Regions from separate parts of the Homo sapiens genome. Here regions 1, 3 and 4 are each linked to region 2. Evidence: promoter capture Hi-C in 16 types of primary human blood cells and fetal thymus (Javierre and others, 2016). All regions are on one chromosome and are shown on one strand. Each heading gives the region's core, a stretch centred on a gene start or on the middle of the fragment in contact. The rest is flanking DNA. Distances are from core to core; before and after follow the strand shown. Region 1 overlaps PHACTR1 (phosphatase and actin regulator 1). Region 2 holds the start of SIRT5 (sirtuin 5). Region 3 overlaps PHACTR1 (phosphatase and actin regulator 1). Region 4 overlaps PHACTR1 (phosphatase and actin regulator 1).

Evidence for each region. The method cuts DNA at HindIII sites, captures the fragments that hold promoters and counts their contacts. A CHiCAGO score of 5 or more calls a contact.
Region 1: a contact is called between a fragment that was not itself captured here and the fragment with the promoter of SIRT5 in region 2, in 1 of 17 cell types (megakaryocytes). The highest score is 6.0, in megakaryocytes.
Region 3: a fragment that was not itself captured here is called in contact with the fragment with the promoter of SIRT5 in region 2 in 1 of 17 cell types (naive B cells); the score reaches 5.3 in naive B cells.
Region 4: a contact is called between a fragment that was not itself captured here and the fragment with the promoter of SIRT5 in region 2, in 2 of 17 cell types (monocytes and M2 macrophages). The highest score is 6.4, in monocytes.

The regions. Positions count from the first base shown.
Region 1 is chr6:12,940,174-12,943,876 of GRCh38, forward strand. All of the region lies in intron 4 of PHACTR1 (phosphatase and actin regulator 1), which reads left to right. Among named protein-coding and RNA genes, the nearest start is that of PHACTR1, 230 kb to the left of the region's middle. The HindIII fragment of the contact is 5,602 bases long and covers 1-3,703 here.
Region 2 is chr6:13,573,060-13,576,675 of GRCh38, forward strand. It overlaps SIRT5 (sirtuin 5), which reads left to right and starts at 1,542. Exons shown (of 10, transcript NM_012241.5): 1 at 1,542-1,685. It overlaps LOC105374937 (a long non-coding RNA gene), which reads right to left and starts at 1,375. Exons shown (of 2, transcript XR_926497.4): 1 at 906-1,375; 2 at 1-162. RefSeq lists a silencer at 1,095-1,614 and enhancers at 1,307-1,893, 1,825-2,304, 1,894-2,479. The HindIII fragment of the contact is 7,984 bases long and covers 1-3,616 here.
Region 3 is chr6:12,920,495-12,924,601 of GRCh38, forward strand. The region is part of intron 4 of PHACTR1 (phosphatase and actin regulator 1); the gene reads left to right. Among named protein-coding and RNA genes, the nearest start is that of PHACTR1, 210 kb to the left of the region's middle. The HindIII fragment of the contact is 3,183 bases long and covers 662-3,844 here.
Region 4 is chr6:12,902,049-12,906,144 of GRCh38, forward strand. The region is part of intron 4 of PHACTR1 (phosphatase and actin regulator 1); the gene reads left to right. Among named protein-coding and RNA genes, the nearest start is that of PHACTR1, 190 kb to the left of the region's middle. The HindIII fragment of the contact is 4,961 bases long and covers 1-4,096 here.

The sequences.
Region 1 (3,703 bases), core at 61-2,560, 630 kb before region 2:
CCAATCACATATTTAACAACTGCTGTTTTAGGTTTAAGCTAATTAGGGAATGATTTTTGGTACATGTATTCCTATTGCAATTAAATAACTCATGGTGTGGGATGGCATTGTGAAGTCTTCTTAAAACTGCTTTTCAGCTTTTTGTGTTAAAAGATGAATTTCATATATATAACATGGTTGTAAGGGGTTTGTGTTTTAACTCATGAGAGCCTGCATATGTTGGTTTAGGGTTACTTTTCTTTAGGGCAAATTCAGCAACAGGGTAAGAGGCTGGAAGAGTTTCTATTTAGAATGGTGAAATATTCAGTGGAGATAAAATTGCTTTATGATGTTTGCCCCAGAAGTCAGTTGAGAATTCGTAATAGATGAAAAGCCTTGACTTTAAGGAGGTGGAAGTCCTCATGGAACTTTTTGCTAGGAAGTTGCTCAGAAGTGATGGAAATATACATTCTCGCCTCTGTGTGTCATGTCCTACATACATCTCATCCTGGCTTTGACATGGGTAAAGCAAGCAGGTTGGAGATTTTTATGTTGATCTTCACGTTTAATGACTCTCTGAGTGCTGTGCTGCTCATCTGTGCCATCTACGTTTCTCAGCCTCCCATTAGTGGGACTATTTTAATGTTTGAACACACTTGTCCCTTAATATGTATCATTTGGACAGAGACGCTTACTATCTGTTCATGACGGATGCTAAGACAGAAAAATCGGGACAGACAGAAATGATTCTTACTACTGTCACCCCATGTAGCAATGGCTTCAAGGTGTCTGTATAGATTGTCCTTAGTAATTACAATATTATTGGAAGGAGAGCCTGGGGGCTTGGCCTTAAAGAGGTGCTTGCAGAGTAAGCATATGATTTTCACTTGGCCGTTATGTTTCCTGGGCTTTTTATGGCATCAATCTCATATGAGCAATCCTTTTCTACCTACCAGTGAGGCTCAGGGTCAAGGGCACTCCACTCACCTTTGTAGTTCACCTACAGAAAACCCTTGAGTCCCAATACGTTTGGGTAAACTTTCTTCAGCTGGTGAAAGGCTAAACCAGACCAGCAGTAAAGTCCTCTTTAAGAAGTATCCTCAGAGTCGTAGCAAATTACTGACAGGTACTTGATATTTAACCTACATCACATATTCTGTGTCACATCTGGTGCTTGGCCCACTGCAGTTGTGGCACTCTTTATGGCCATTTGTTATGGCATAAATCACCTCTGTAAAATGATGAAGGGTCTTTCTTACAAGTCATAACTGTGAAGAGAAGCAAGCAGAAAACCACAGTAGTACCAGGCTGATTGTAAGTAAAGAAGAGGTGGAGGGGCCTCATCACTCAGCACATTGCTCTAAGACCTTTCCTCAGCAGGGAGAGTTCGTGACCGGATGTCACTACCTCTCACTCGCCACTTCCTGCCTCTCCACTTGAATCTGCTCCTACCTTCAGTAAGTAGGAGCCAAACGTCCTTGAAGTGTAGCATTGGGGTTCTGGGAAGCTGCAGAGTTGTGAATTATGGGTGTACGTCAGGACAGGCGAGCCTCGAAGCAGCATGAGTCAGGGATACAGCATAGTCAGAGCCCAGGGCAGATTCTCAGCCAGAAGCAAGCATACAAGCAAAAGTATATGCAACCTGATGTTTGTAACGCTGAAGGCTTGCACTGGCATAGAAAAATATGTAAAGTGAACTCAAAGGTCATTATATGGGGCTTGCAATCAAAACATCATGAGTGGACCTGAATTAACTAAAATGCATTTTCTAATACAGACAGAGAGTTCTTTGATATTTCCTTTTGGAGAAGCTCCTCCCCAAGGTATGAAACACTTTGAGCAGGAGATAAATGGCTCATCAATTCCCCCATTCTGCCAGCAACTGACCTCATCCAGAGTGGGATTAAAGGAAAAGTACCCATAAGAAAATCTCTGCCTACATTCATTGACATTGAGTTTCCAATGCCACATCCCATCTTTTGCCCACCCTTGAGGAAACAGAATATTCCAACAGACATGCAACAACAAAAAAAGAAGGAAAAAAGAGAAAAAATTGATAATCCTCAAAATGATCTGAGTCATTTCCCATTAAATATGTCATTATTTCCATATGATTATGTGCCTTTTAGTGTGCCTAGCACTGTGCTACTTAAACACCACAGGGATATCAAGTAGTAGAAACACAATACAAGCTAATACTTTTTGAGTATTTATTGCCAAGTGATATACTACACTTTTGAAATACCCTGCCCTGTTTAAAGTAACCACAACTTCATGTTGTAGTTAGAGCTAGTTCTTTCTTTTACACGTGATGAAACTAAGTCTTAGGAGTCAAACAACTAGTTTAAAGTCACACAGTGGCCAGGTGCAGTGGTTTACACCTGTAATCCCAGTCACTTGGGAGGCCGAGACAGGAGAATCGCTTGAACCCAGGAGGCGGCAGGTTCAGTGAGCCGAGATCATACCACTGCACTCCAGCCTGGGCGACAGAACGAGATCCTGTCTCAAATAAATAAATGTAAATAAGGTCACAATGATACATGACAAGCCTGGGATTGGAATTCATACAGTCCAACTCCAATGCCCTAGTGTTTGACAATGCAGTTCCACTGAAGAAAGTAGCTTATGAGCTAGTGGAGAAATGAATCATACAAGTCAATCTTCCTGACCGATGCTGATACAAGCACACATATCCCAAAGCTCCATAGCTCTTTCACCCAGGCATTTCAGCAGGTATAGATCTGCCCTACCAACCACATTCAATCTTTGCAGAATCCTGGTAATATTCAATAGAAAAGTATTATTCATTCCTCAATAGGTTAAACATAGAATTACCATATGACCCAGCAATTCCACTCCTAGACAGATATCCTAAAGAATTAGAAACAGATGTTCAAACAAAAACTTGTACAGGAATGTTCATAGCAGCGTTACTCACAATAGCCAAAAGGTAGAAACACCCACAAATGTTCATCAATGAACAAAGTGTGGACAAACAATATGTGGCATATCCATATAATGAAATATTATTCAGCCATAGAAAGAAAGAAAGTACTGACATGTGTACTTTATGGATGAACCTTGAAAATACTATGCCAAGAGAAAGAAGCCACATATGTCTGATTCCATTTACATGAAATGTCCAGAATAGGCAAATTCACAGAGACAGGAGGCAGGTTGGTTTTACCAGGGGGCTAAGGAAAATGGGAGAATGAGGTATGATTGTTTCTTGCCTACAGGGTTTCCTTTTGGGTTGATGAAAATATTATAGCACTACGTAGTGTCGATGGCTGCACAACACTTTGAATATACTAAATGGCACTGAATTCTACACCTTAAAATGGTTACAATAGTGAATTTTACATATGTGTATTCTGCCACAATGGAAAGAAAAGGTTGTTATGGACCTGGGATAGTATGATCCATGTGGCATTTTTAGGGGTTCATAGATGTGTAAGACACATTCTCTATCCTCAAATAATTTAGAAATACACTGATGATGAAATTAAAATGCACGTGTCCTTCTTGCTTTTATATGAATGGGAAGGTGCCGTTGCTTTGGTGACAAATGGTATATCCAAGTAAGTAATTGCTTCACTGTGGTTGAATTGACACCTGTCAACATGTAATGATTTATAAAGGTTGTAAAACATTTAGAAATTCATAAGCTCTGAATGGCACATGTAAATTTATTTTATATTTGAGATAATAGTTAAGAATTTAT
Region 2 (3,616 bases), core at 292-2,791:
ATATAATGATGTATTAATGATCTAAAAGTAACAAGGGGTGGCTGGTTCTGGTTTTCTCTGGTTCCTAGTAGGCCTTATCTTTCTCTGGTACTTGGCAAAGGGCAGTGAGGATCCCGGGCCAACCGCAGTTGTTTTAAGCTGGGTTACCTATAGATAAAGAGACTAGGAAAAAAAATCAAACAAACAAAACGGTTTAAAAAACAATGAGCATTTTCAGCTGTCTACTGTTTAAGAAAATAATGAGCTCTCAGTTTTGCCCTCTGAGCGATTTCTCCAGGACTGCCCTGGTAACACTACTACTCAACAGTTTTGTGCTTTGCGCAGTTACTTGACCTCCCTGGGCCTCGGTTTCCCCACCCATAAAGTGGGGATAACAGTACCTATTTCATCAGGTGGTGGGGACGATTTAAAATGGTTAATAATGTGCAGTTCTTAAAAGTGTCTGGCTCAGAATAAGCACCATACACGTTAGGGGGAAAAACAGCAGCCGGATGTGAGGCCCTCCCCAATTTCGTTACTCCATAAACCTCTGAGTTGCTGGTAACACCTGCAGGAATGAGAAGGGCCTCAACATGGGCTGAATTTCCAGCCAAACTGTGGGAAGTGGCTGAGATTTTAGGTAGGCAAAAAATGTTAATGTAACATTTTTGGCCCCCAAGTTCTCAGACCACTTACTTCCCTTTCTAGTCCACTGACATGCCCGCAAGCAATTCCATTCTGCCAAGTGGTGCTGGTGGCAAGCCGGAATCCAAGAAAAGGAAAGACTCCGATTTTAAGGGAACGGGGACATGCGGAGCCACGTGAGTCACTGGGTCCCAGAGCCACGGAAGGCTCTCAGCTCAGCAGTCAGAGTGCACTCGTCATTGCGTTCGAGGTTAGGTGGCCTAGCCTGGGAACCAACTCACCGTCATTTGAAATCGTTTTAGGGAAAATGACCCTAACATTTAAAATCCTCTCTCCTGAAGTTGTGTGGTCCAGCCGTTTGCTGAAGGAGGAAGCAAAGCCGGTAGTAACTCACTACATATTTGGGCAGTGGAATGAACCCTGGAAGCTGACAAAGTCGAAGCAAGTCACTGCGCCGCCCCCCACCCCCACCCCCACCCCAAATAAAAACAGAGAGACAATCCTTCAATTATAAAGAAGACCACGGCGCCCGGGTCTCCGGCAGGGGCCGCTGCAGCCGAGCAGAACGCTGAGCCGCTCCGCCCCACGGCCTCCTCTCCAGCCGGCGCGCCCGCCTCCCGCAGGTGCGTCTCTGCCTGCGCCGGGCCGGGGTCTCCGCGGCCTCTCCCGCTCGGGCTCCGGCTTCGAGGTCCCGACCAAGCACTGCTCTCGCGGGACTGCGCGCACCGCCCAGGGCCTGCCGCGGGCTCGCGAGCGGAGGTGGCACCGGTCCGCGGTGCGCATGCGCGGCCCGGCCTCTGCCCTGCGGTCCCGGGCTGGTGACTGGCTAGCGGTTGGAGGAAGGGATGTGGGGGATGGTGGGTGGGTACAGAGAGCTGGGAGGGAGGCACCCCGGGGGGCGGGGCGTGGGAGACTGTATTCGGGGGCGCGAGCTGCCCCAGGTGAGCCGTGGCTCAGGTCCGGAGCGCGGTCGGGACACAGCGCCTCTAGGAGAAAGCCTGGAAGGCGCTCCGGGGGTACCCAGAGCTCTTAGCGGGCCGGCAGCATGTGCGGGGCCCAAGGTCTTCCGGGCTCTGCGTGGGGGTCGCTGCGGCTGGAGACCAGGGAGGGGGATGGAAACGGGGTTGGAAAGTAATCCCACCCGAGCAGGTGGGCATGGGAGGCCGCTGTGCTGGGGAGCCCCGCGAGGGCTCCGAACAGAGCCTCCCTTTTCAGAAAGGTCACCCTGGTCATTGCAGCTGCCAGGGTGACCGAGGAAGGTGGCCGGGGTGGAGGCAGTGGGCGTGGAGAGGGGTCGGATTCCGGACGTAGTTTGAAGGTGGAGCCGTCAGGTTCTGCTGAGCAGCTTGGCTATGGGGCGTGCGAGAAGGGAAGGCTCAGGGCCTAGTCCCTGGGCACGAGTAGTAGCCGGGAGGATGAAGTCCCAGTGCTTCGGGGGGAGGCGGCTTGAGGACGGCTCTGGAGCTCAGGCTTGCCCGCGTGGAGTGGAAGCTGCCTCTTGGACACAGGGCGGGGAGGCCGCATGCAGTCTGGCGCGCTGGGAGGATGGGAGATCCAGAGGGGCAGGGCTGGAGGGGTAGGAGGAAAACCTGAAGAGGGTGGCGCCCGGAAGCCCGGGAAAGTGATGAACTGGGTCAGAGGCCGGGTATCAACAAATAGGAGGGTGGAGACGACCTTGAGGAAAGCAGGTGATGGAACGGGAGGGAATGGGGCCCCCTAGTGGAGACACCTGGGAGTGATGTATTGCATTTATTTAGCTCTTAGGCGTTCAAAAATTATTTATTGGGAGCCTGTACAACTTTTTGCAGTTCATTGCATTATCCTTAGCATGTATTTTGTTTTATATAAATATATATTTATATAATTATTTTTATTGACAAATTTATATATTTATAGCGTACAGTGTAATGTTTTGATATATGTATACATTGTAGAAAGATTAAATCAAGCTAATTGACATATCCATCACCTCACCTACTTATTTTTTGTGGTGAAAATCTACTCTCCTGGAAATATACAATACATCATCAACTATGGTCACCATGCTGTGCAGTAGATCACTAAAACTTACTCCTCTTACCTAACTAAAACTTTGTATCCTTTGACCAACATCCCTCCCTTCCACATCAGCCCTCTGCCAGGCCCCTGGTAACCATCATTCTACTCTGCTTCTATGAGTTCAACTTTTTTAGACCCCAAGTATATAAGTAAGATCATGTGCTGTTTGTCCTTCTGTGCCTGGCTTATTTTACTTGGCCTCATGTCCTCCAGGTTCATCCATGTTGTTGCAAATGACAGAATTGCCTTCTGTTTTAAGACTGTATAGTATTCCATTGTATATATGTGCCACATTTTCTTTATCCGGTCCTCAGTTGATGGATACTTAGTTGCTTCTATATCTTGGTTATTGTGAATAATGCTGAAAACAACACAGGAATGCAGCTATCTCTTCAACATACTGATTTCAATTCCTTTGTATATATACCCAGAAGTAGGATTTCTGGGTCATGTGGTAATTCTATTTTTAGATTTTGAGGAGCCTCCATACTGTTTTCCAAAATGGCTGTACTAATTTACATTCCACCAACAGTGTACCAGGGTTCCCTTTTCTCCACATTCTGGACAAAACTTGTTGTCTTTGATCTTTTTTATAATAGCCATTCTAACAAGCGTGAGGTGGTAGCTCAGTGTGATTTAATTTGCATTTCCCTGGTGGTTAGCAAAGTTGAGCGTTTTTCATGTATTTGTTGACCATTCATATGTCTTCTTTTGAGGAATACCTGTTCAGGTTCTTTGTCCATTTTTTAACCGGGTTATTCGTTTTGTTTTGTTTTGCTGTTGAGTTTTTTGAGTTTCTTATATATTTTAGATAAGAGCCCCTTATCAGATGCATGGTTTGCAAATATTTTCTCCCAGTCTGTGGGTTGTCTCTTTACTCTGTTAATTATTTTCTTTGCTGTGCAGAGGCTTTTTAGTTTGATGCAATCCCATG
Region 3 (4,107 bases), core at 1,003-3,502, 650 kb before region 2:
TTAATGAATGTTTTTCATTATCTCTTCATTAATGGTAATCCATTCATTATTAAGTTTTTGCTTCTCTTCCTGTTCCTATTTTCCCTGCCAGGCACTATAAGGAGTGAGGCAGAATGCAATATTGAAATAAATTTGTAGCTACATTATAATTCATAAATTGTAGAATTATGGTGAATGTAAAAGTACTGTCATTATCAAAGTGCCCCTTTGAACAAGGCCAAGGCCAGGCCAAGGTGAAGTAGGAGCAAAATAAACAAAAGAAAGAAAGTAGCTGTAAGAAGGTGTACATTTCTATGTCAAGCAGCTTTTGGGGATGGATGGGGATTATGCTGTAAAATTCAAGGGACTGGAAAATAGAACCCCTAATAATAACTGCTACCACTTTTGAGTGATTAATCATGTTTCAAACACTGTACAAAACATCTCATTTAGCTATAAGTCAGCCTTTTGAGTTGGATACTGGGTTTGGCATTTGATTTTGGTACTACTATCCTTGCTTGATACATGAAGTTTAGACAAATTAAGGCACTTGTCCCCAGTTCAGAGCTAGGACTAGGGTGAGACAAATGAGACACTTAGGGTGCAGACTTTCAGGATGTGCCCGTTCTCACATTGGTGCAGTGCACCTGGGAATGGGCACCTCCTTAAACCAAGCACCCTAAGCTTGTCACTTGCTTCACTCTATCCCTGCCCTGCCATGATCACACAACTAGAAAGAAAATGGCCAAGTAATTTTTTAGATCAGGTCCAAAGTTCATGTTCTTGACCACTTTGTTAGGAACCAGCACAGGCATTCACACCCAGCTTTCTGGAGAATAAATTCGATAACTAATGAGTATCTACCAATGCTGGGCACAGGGCTGAGTGTGCAGGACACACAGAAATGAAAAAGACAGTCCTTGTCTTCAAGACTAAAATGCTAGTGCACTGTGAAACACTGACATCCTACCCATGCTGGAGGGAAGGATGGAAGGAAGGAAGGAAGGAAGGAGGGAAGGAAGGAAGGAAAGAAGGAAGGAAGGAAGGGGAGGGAGGGAGGGAGGAGGGAAAGGAGGAAGGAGGAAGGAAGGAAGGAGGGAAGGAAGGAGAAGAAGGAAGGGAGGAAGGGAGGAAGGAAGGAAGAAAGGGAGGAAGGAGAGGGAGGGAGGGAGGGAAGAAGGAAGGGAGGGAGGAGGGAAAGGAAGAAGGAGGAAGGATGGAAAGAAGCAAGGAGAAGGAATGAAGAAGGGAAGGAAGGAGAGGGAGGGAGGAGGAAAGGAAGGAAGGAAGAAGGAAGGGAGAGAAACAGGGAGGGAGGGAAGAAGGAAGGGAGGGAGGGAGCAAGGGGGAAGGAAGGAAGGGAGGGAGAGAGGGAGGCAGGAAGGCAAGAAGGCTGGTCCATGCATTGCTGTGTATTGCATCTCAGTGTTGTCTGGCTCTAGTGCCAGCAGGCCTTGTGAAAAGGGCCCTTACTCTCTCTCAGATTCATTCTCCACATCTGCAAATAAGAATGATGGTGCCTGTGCTATCCACATCACAAAGTCACAGTAAAAACAAGTATCAAAAGGAGATGATCACTTTGCTTTGTGGCACTATAAAGCAGAGAACATCTGTGAGCTACTTTTATAAGGAATACCCCATGTCATTTGCAGAACATTGAATGGGGAGTTGGGATCCCTGGGTTCTAATTTCTGGGTTGCCTTTTATTGGCAGTATGACCTCACAAAGGACTCTTCTCCTTGCAAGATCTTGCTTCCTCATTCATTAAATGGGAAAATTGGAATAAAAAATGACTCTAAGACTTCATAATTGTGACTGAAGTATTGAGGGTAATGTTTAGCAAAAGCATGTAAAATTATTCATAGCTCTGTCTTATTTTACGTAGATCAGTACACATTAATAATATTGGCTTTAGAGAACTGCATGCAGTGTATGGTGCTGGAGCCCAGGGAAAGTAAAGCAAGGGCATGTGAGTTAGCTTGTGCAGAGCCATCAGCATCCATAAAGGAATAAAGCAAAGTTCTCATCCTAACCTAAAATGAGAGTTTGAATATGCATGGAACAGCTAGATCGTGTTTAGAAGTCACATCCATAAACATGGAGATGGAAACAAGAACATATATCTCCTAGCTGATTCTCCATGCATTGATTTCAACTTTCCATTTCACTCCTCCTACTATCCTTTACCCATTCATTTTCAATAGTGTGCATTCCTAGTCAGTGGGTGGTAAGAAGGAGTATGGAAGTAAATACCTTCTAAGTAGATCTGAAGGACTTACTAGTTGCTTACTAATTCACTAATTCTATGAAGAAATTATCTGCAGCTCTGAAGAGGTATACATTATCCACTGAGACCATTGTCTATTAAGATTGGCATTGCCTTTGGAGTCAGGGTACAGGAATTAAAAGGAATAGCACCTCCTCCCACAACCCACCCTATTCCTAGAACTCTGCATCAGACCCCGGAGTAAATTGAAAGAACTATATTCCTTTAGTAAATACTTACTGAATGTTTTCTACAGACACTATGTCAGGAGATATGTAATCTGCCATAATTCTGATTGCAAAAATCCCCCATGCAATTTTGATTACAAAAATAGAATCCGAAACAGAGCCTTCCTCCATAAATCTATTGCCTGTGCAGCTAGGAATAGTTACAGAGACTTCCAGTAACTCAAAAGTTAATGCAAAGGAGACTAAGGATGTGCCCAAACTAGAAGAGATGAGAGGAGACAGGGGTCTAGATATGACTGACAAGTCTTTATCAAAGGTCATGGAAATGAATCTATCCCAAAGGACCTATGCTTTAATAATAAATAGTAAAAAAGATGTATGATTGAGAATTTACTTTGAAAAATGAATCTATGTAAGTTAATGTCATCCTCTAATGAAATTTAGGATAAAATATTACATGCTATAATTTATAGAACACAAAATAATTTTCACTAAAAATAATTTTGCAACAAATATTATGATAGCACAATGCAATATCCTTGACATCATGCATGACTTCTGCAGCATGATCCAAAAGAGAATCGCATTTGCTAAATTTTTTGAGAACCCCCTCCATTTTCCTAATACCAATACTTTGATATTGAAATTATTTCCATGGAAGCATCTATCTTATCATTATCCTTGCCAATTCTTTTTTTCCTTCTCAGTTACAAATGAATCTCTTTCAGAAGCTCATGATTCACTAGTTTTGCAGTTCTCCCCCATCATTTTCACTAACTTCAAGAAACCATGCATTCTTCACCAGATTTGCTCTTTCCCTTTGCAATTGATTTTAATTGTGTTGTCAGGTAACATTAGACACGAATGAGAAACCGATCTTCAAAGACAGGATAGGCCTGAAGAGGCAGTAGTGTAAGGAAGTGAGAGAGATGATGACTAATTTTATAAGCAGTAGGTTCATGTGTCACATGTTGATATTACAATGATTGTTTGCCTCTCTAAACACCACCATAAAGGTGGAGGTTTGGATAATGAAGAGCTTCTGTTCGTGGTAATAAGGTAACATTCTAAAGTAAACTGAATATCAAACACTTTAATTTACTAATTCAATCTTGAAAGACATGATCTCCAAATACAAACTGTGCTTTTTGTTGCTGTTGTATTGGGGTAAGTTTTGGAGGCAGTAGTTTAGATGATATAAAATATTTGCCCTTAAAGCTAAATTGACCTACTTTATAAACTGCTGAGACTATGTGTTTCTAGATAATACATGTGTATGTATGTAAATACATATATACATAAATATATTTACATATAGGCACAGATAAACGTGTGTGTCCATACATATGCCAACATGTGTTAATTTGTAATTATATTTAGGTTATTTAAAGTAAATGCAAACAACAATTCAAGCTTTATTATTGGTCTTATGTGTGTTTCTACAAGCAACCATCCCAAACTGGTTAAATTTTCTATTGACACTGATTTGCCCATCTTTTGGCAATGCACTAATTTCCATGAACTCTTAATGAGATATACAATGAGATTTAAAATTTTAAACTATATGCCGGGCACGGTGGCTCACGCCTGTAATCCCAGCACTTTGGGAGGCCGAGGTGGGTGGATCACAAGGTCAGAAGATCGAGACCATCCTGGCTAACATGGTGAAACCTT
Region 4 (4,096 bases), core at 994-3,493, 670 kb before region 2:
AAGCCCCCTACATGCACAGGACATCCCCTTGCAGACAATGCAAATGATCCAGCCCTCAAGGTCAGCAGAACTGAGATTAAGAACCTGCTATAGGCCAGGCCTGGTGGCTCATGCCTATAATCCCAGCACTTTGGGGGACGGAGGGAGGTGGATCACCTGATGTCAGGAGTTCGAGACCAGCCTGGCCAAAATGGCGAAACGCTGTCTCTATTAAAAATACAAAAATTAGCTGGATATGGTGGCACGTACCTGTAATATCAGCTACTCAAGAGGCTGAGACAGGAGAGTCACTTGAACTCGGGAGGCAGAAGTTGCAGTGACCAGAGAGCACACAACTGCACTCCAGCCTGGGCGACAGAGCAAGATCCTGTCTCCAAAAATAAAGAACCTACTATAATGAGTTTTCCCAACAATCTTCCCCTTACCTTCCAATACTTCTAGGTTCGTCCATTGGATGAACTTCTAGGTTCTTCCATTGGATGAACATACAACATCTCCTCGGGTAAACATAGTGTCAGCTCCATCAACAAACAGTGTCCCAGTTCATCTCTGTGGTATCACTTTTCTCCACATCTTTCCTAGGCTGAGGGGCATAACCTGGATTTTCTTTTCCCAGCATTCATTTTCTTCCTCTTGAATGTTCGATTGCTCCATCAATCAACTGGATGATGATTGAATGAATCAATACATTCATCAATATATGAAGAACATATAACTGGCCTGGAGAATGTGCAGATTCGCTCACTACTCTCTCAAAGCAGGATGAACTATCCATATTTTGATAAAGCTGAACAAACCCACACTGTCCATCTCAACAGGCCACTTAAGACCCCAGCAACCCGGTCCCCAGAAGACACTCAGCTTACTTAGGGCAATGACACCATTTGTCGAGACCCAACCGGCCCCTTGTGACTGCCTTCCTCCATGAGTTCCAAACATCCCTGGTGGCTTTTTCAACTTACGAATTTGAGGTGAAGGAAGAAGAGAAGCAAACGTCTTCATGAGAGGTGACAAAGTGTGGTGGTGAAGAGCGAGGGTCCTGCAGCCAGACACCTGCTTTCGGCTCCCAGCTCTGCCATGCATTACCTGGGAGACTTGGCCACCTTCCTTAACCACTGTGTTCCTCAGTTTCCTTATTTATAAGGTGGGAATGCCGTCAAGGGTTCCTGAGAGGATCAAATGAATAAGGATAAGGAAAGCACTTAGAACAGTATAAGGCACAAAGCAACTGTGTGGTAAAGGGTGGATATTATTAAAGGGAGACATGTCTTCAAGTAGGAGCCAAGAAGTGAATGTTCCCATCACTAATACCAACCTAAAATAGCATTAGTCCAAATGTATCATGCACGTGGTCAGCATAGCCAAAGGTTGCCTCACTGCAAGGTTAAAGAAGAAGCTAAACAAATTTCACTTCCTTACAAGGGCAACAGGACTGGACTCCATCCTTCTTGACATGGGTTGTTTCCTCTTTCCTATTTAAGAATGAGCACATTGGGTGCAATTCTCCAAGGCTCCCCACTGGTTTATTCTGCCCTCCTGGCCTTTGCCCTTAGAAAGGTTTATAGCCTTCTCCCTAATAACTCAGTACATAATCATTAAGAAGCATGAGTAAAATGGGACTTTAATTACTTTATTAAAGGTAATAAATATGTCTATGCCCTTGAGATCATATAAAAATAGCTTAAAATCATTGGCCATAGTTATATTTTCCACGAGCTGAGTTTTAAAATATGTATAAAGTCTGTGGTAAATTAAGAGAGATTTCAGCCTACTAACAATTCCTAAACCATTCTAAATGGGTCAGGAATTCAACTGGGATATCTATGATTTTTTTGTTTCTTCTTATTTCCTGATAATGCCATATGTTTTATAATTTAGCATCTTATTAAGGAGGTGAGAGCCTTAAAACTTTTAAAGTCAATTCCTGTTTTTAACTATTAAAAATAATTTTTAGTGGAGAGTTTGCTTATTATTATTTTGACACAATGCCTGCATTCATTTTAAGATTTAGGGGATTACTGAGCTATTCTTTTACATATCTCCAGCATATCATGCAGCATCTGGAACAGAGAAGACATTTTCATTTATGTTTATTAAATAACCAAAACATACATATGAATTAACAAATAAACTATATATAAAGGCAATAGTTAGGGCTTTCTTTTAGCATTTCCTTTTGTCTTTAAACTAGTCTCTTTTATAGAAACTACTCATTACGGCCGGGTGCAGTGGCTCATGCCTGTAACCCCAGCAATATAGGAGGCTCTGAGGTCAGGAGTTCAAGACCAGCCTGCCCAACATGGTGAAACCCCATCTCTACTAAAAATACAAAAAAAATAGCCAGGCGTGGTGGCAGGTGCCTGTAATCCCAGCTACTTGGGAGCCTGAGGCAGGAGAATTGCTTGAACCCGGGAGGCGGAGGTTGTGGTGAGCTGAGATCTTCCCACTGCACTCCAGCCTGGGCAGCAAGAGCAAAACTCCATCTCAAAAAAAAAAAAAAAAGTGAAGAAAGAACAGAAACTACTCATTACAGTAGTTTACTTGCCGTAAGAATCACATCAAACATTAAACCTTTCCACCTTCATTTTCCTAACACCTCTTTGACTTGGGGAAGGATAAATGACTCTTTACCTGCAGGGTGAACCAGCTACATACCCCGAGGCACTGACCCGGACTCAGTCTAGCACAATCAGAACCCCATCCAACCAGCCTAATATGTCATGTAAAGGGCACGGTCTGACTTCTGAGAGAGGTGGATCTCAATCTCATCGCTGCTGCTTCTTAATCCCTTTGAGCCTCAATTTCTTTTTGTATATAAAGGGAACAATAGTGATTTTGTTGAGATGAGGTATGCAAAGTCCCTGGCATGCAGTGAGCACTCAGCAATAAGTGCTATTTATTGGGCCAGGATTCCAACTAGTTTCATAAAAATAGCAGGAAAGTCCAGTGGAAAGCCCACTTGATGGTAGGGGAGGCTTCTACCCACCAACTAATTCCATGTTTCTCAACCCTGCACTGAACGTCAAAATCACCTGGGGAACTTTTGAAAAATTATGATGCCTGGTCCCAACCCCATGGAGCCTGGCTTAAATGGGGACAAGATAGCTATAGATTTTTAAAGTTTCTCCAGGGGATTCTAATGACCACCCAGGGTGGAAAAGCATGGAGCTAACGGGGTGCAGGACCAGTGTCCTCATAGGAAGTCAAAGGTTTGGTGGTAAACAACCACTGAAGCACATTTTCAAGGTAAGATCCATTGGAATGTATATTCCTGTCCTTAAACTCAAACTAGTTTAAAGTGATGGGTATCTTTTAATAAGACCTTCAGCGCTGGTTCTAGAGCTGCCTGTTCCCATACTATGTGTCTAATCAGCAGCCATATATTCATTTAAGTACAAAATTTGTCGAACACATCCTATATGCTAGGAACTGTGCTATTCTTCTGGGGTCCAGAACTGAGGGTGACACGGTCTTTGCTGTCATTTCCGGTCTAGTGAAGGAGATAGAGGAGAGTGACAGTTCTATGTGACAGACAGCAGGAGAGGGATAACTAAAACAGGCTCAGGAGGGAGAGGGCATGACAGCACATCCAGAGAAGGTGATGACAAGGAATTAACCAGGCAGAGAAGAGAGGTCCAAAGACAGGATTTTGGTGGCTTGAGTGAGGAGTATTTGCCAGTTTCATGTAACAACCATAAATTCATATTGCTTTATATTTAACTTATCAGTTTAAGTCAGTGGGCACCTTTTATACATTTAAGATGATATTAGGATAGTAGGGGCTTAGAATATTCCTACGTGGCAACATCTCATTAATTAAATTTCCTGGGATGTATGTGTGACAGTGTCCCAACATAGCATAGTAAAGAGGTTGAATGAATAACTTTTAGTATTGCTTCTAACTATTTTAAAGTTCTAGAACAGAAGTGGAATGGTTTTGCAAGTTGCCTTTCTCTCACTTTATTTCTGCTTTTCTATTTATGTAATAGACTAATTAAGGCACATTTTGTGTGTCTGTCATTGTCTATATATGAGATAGTCAGATTCATGGAAATGTCACTTGTGGTCTGAGTGTAAAATGAAATCTCTGGTAGTT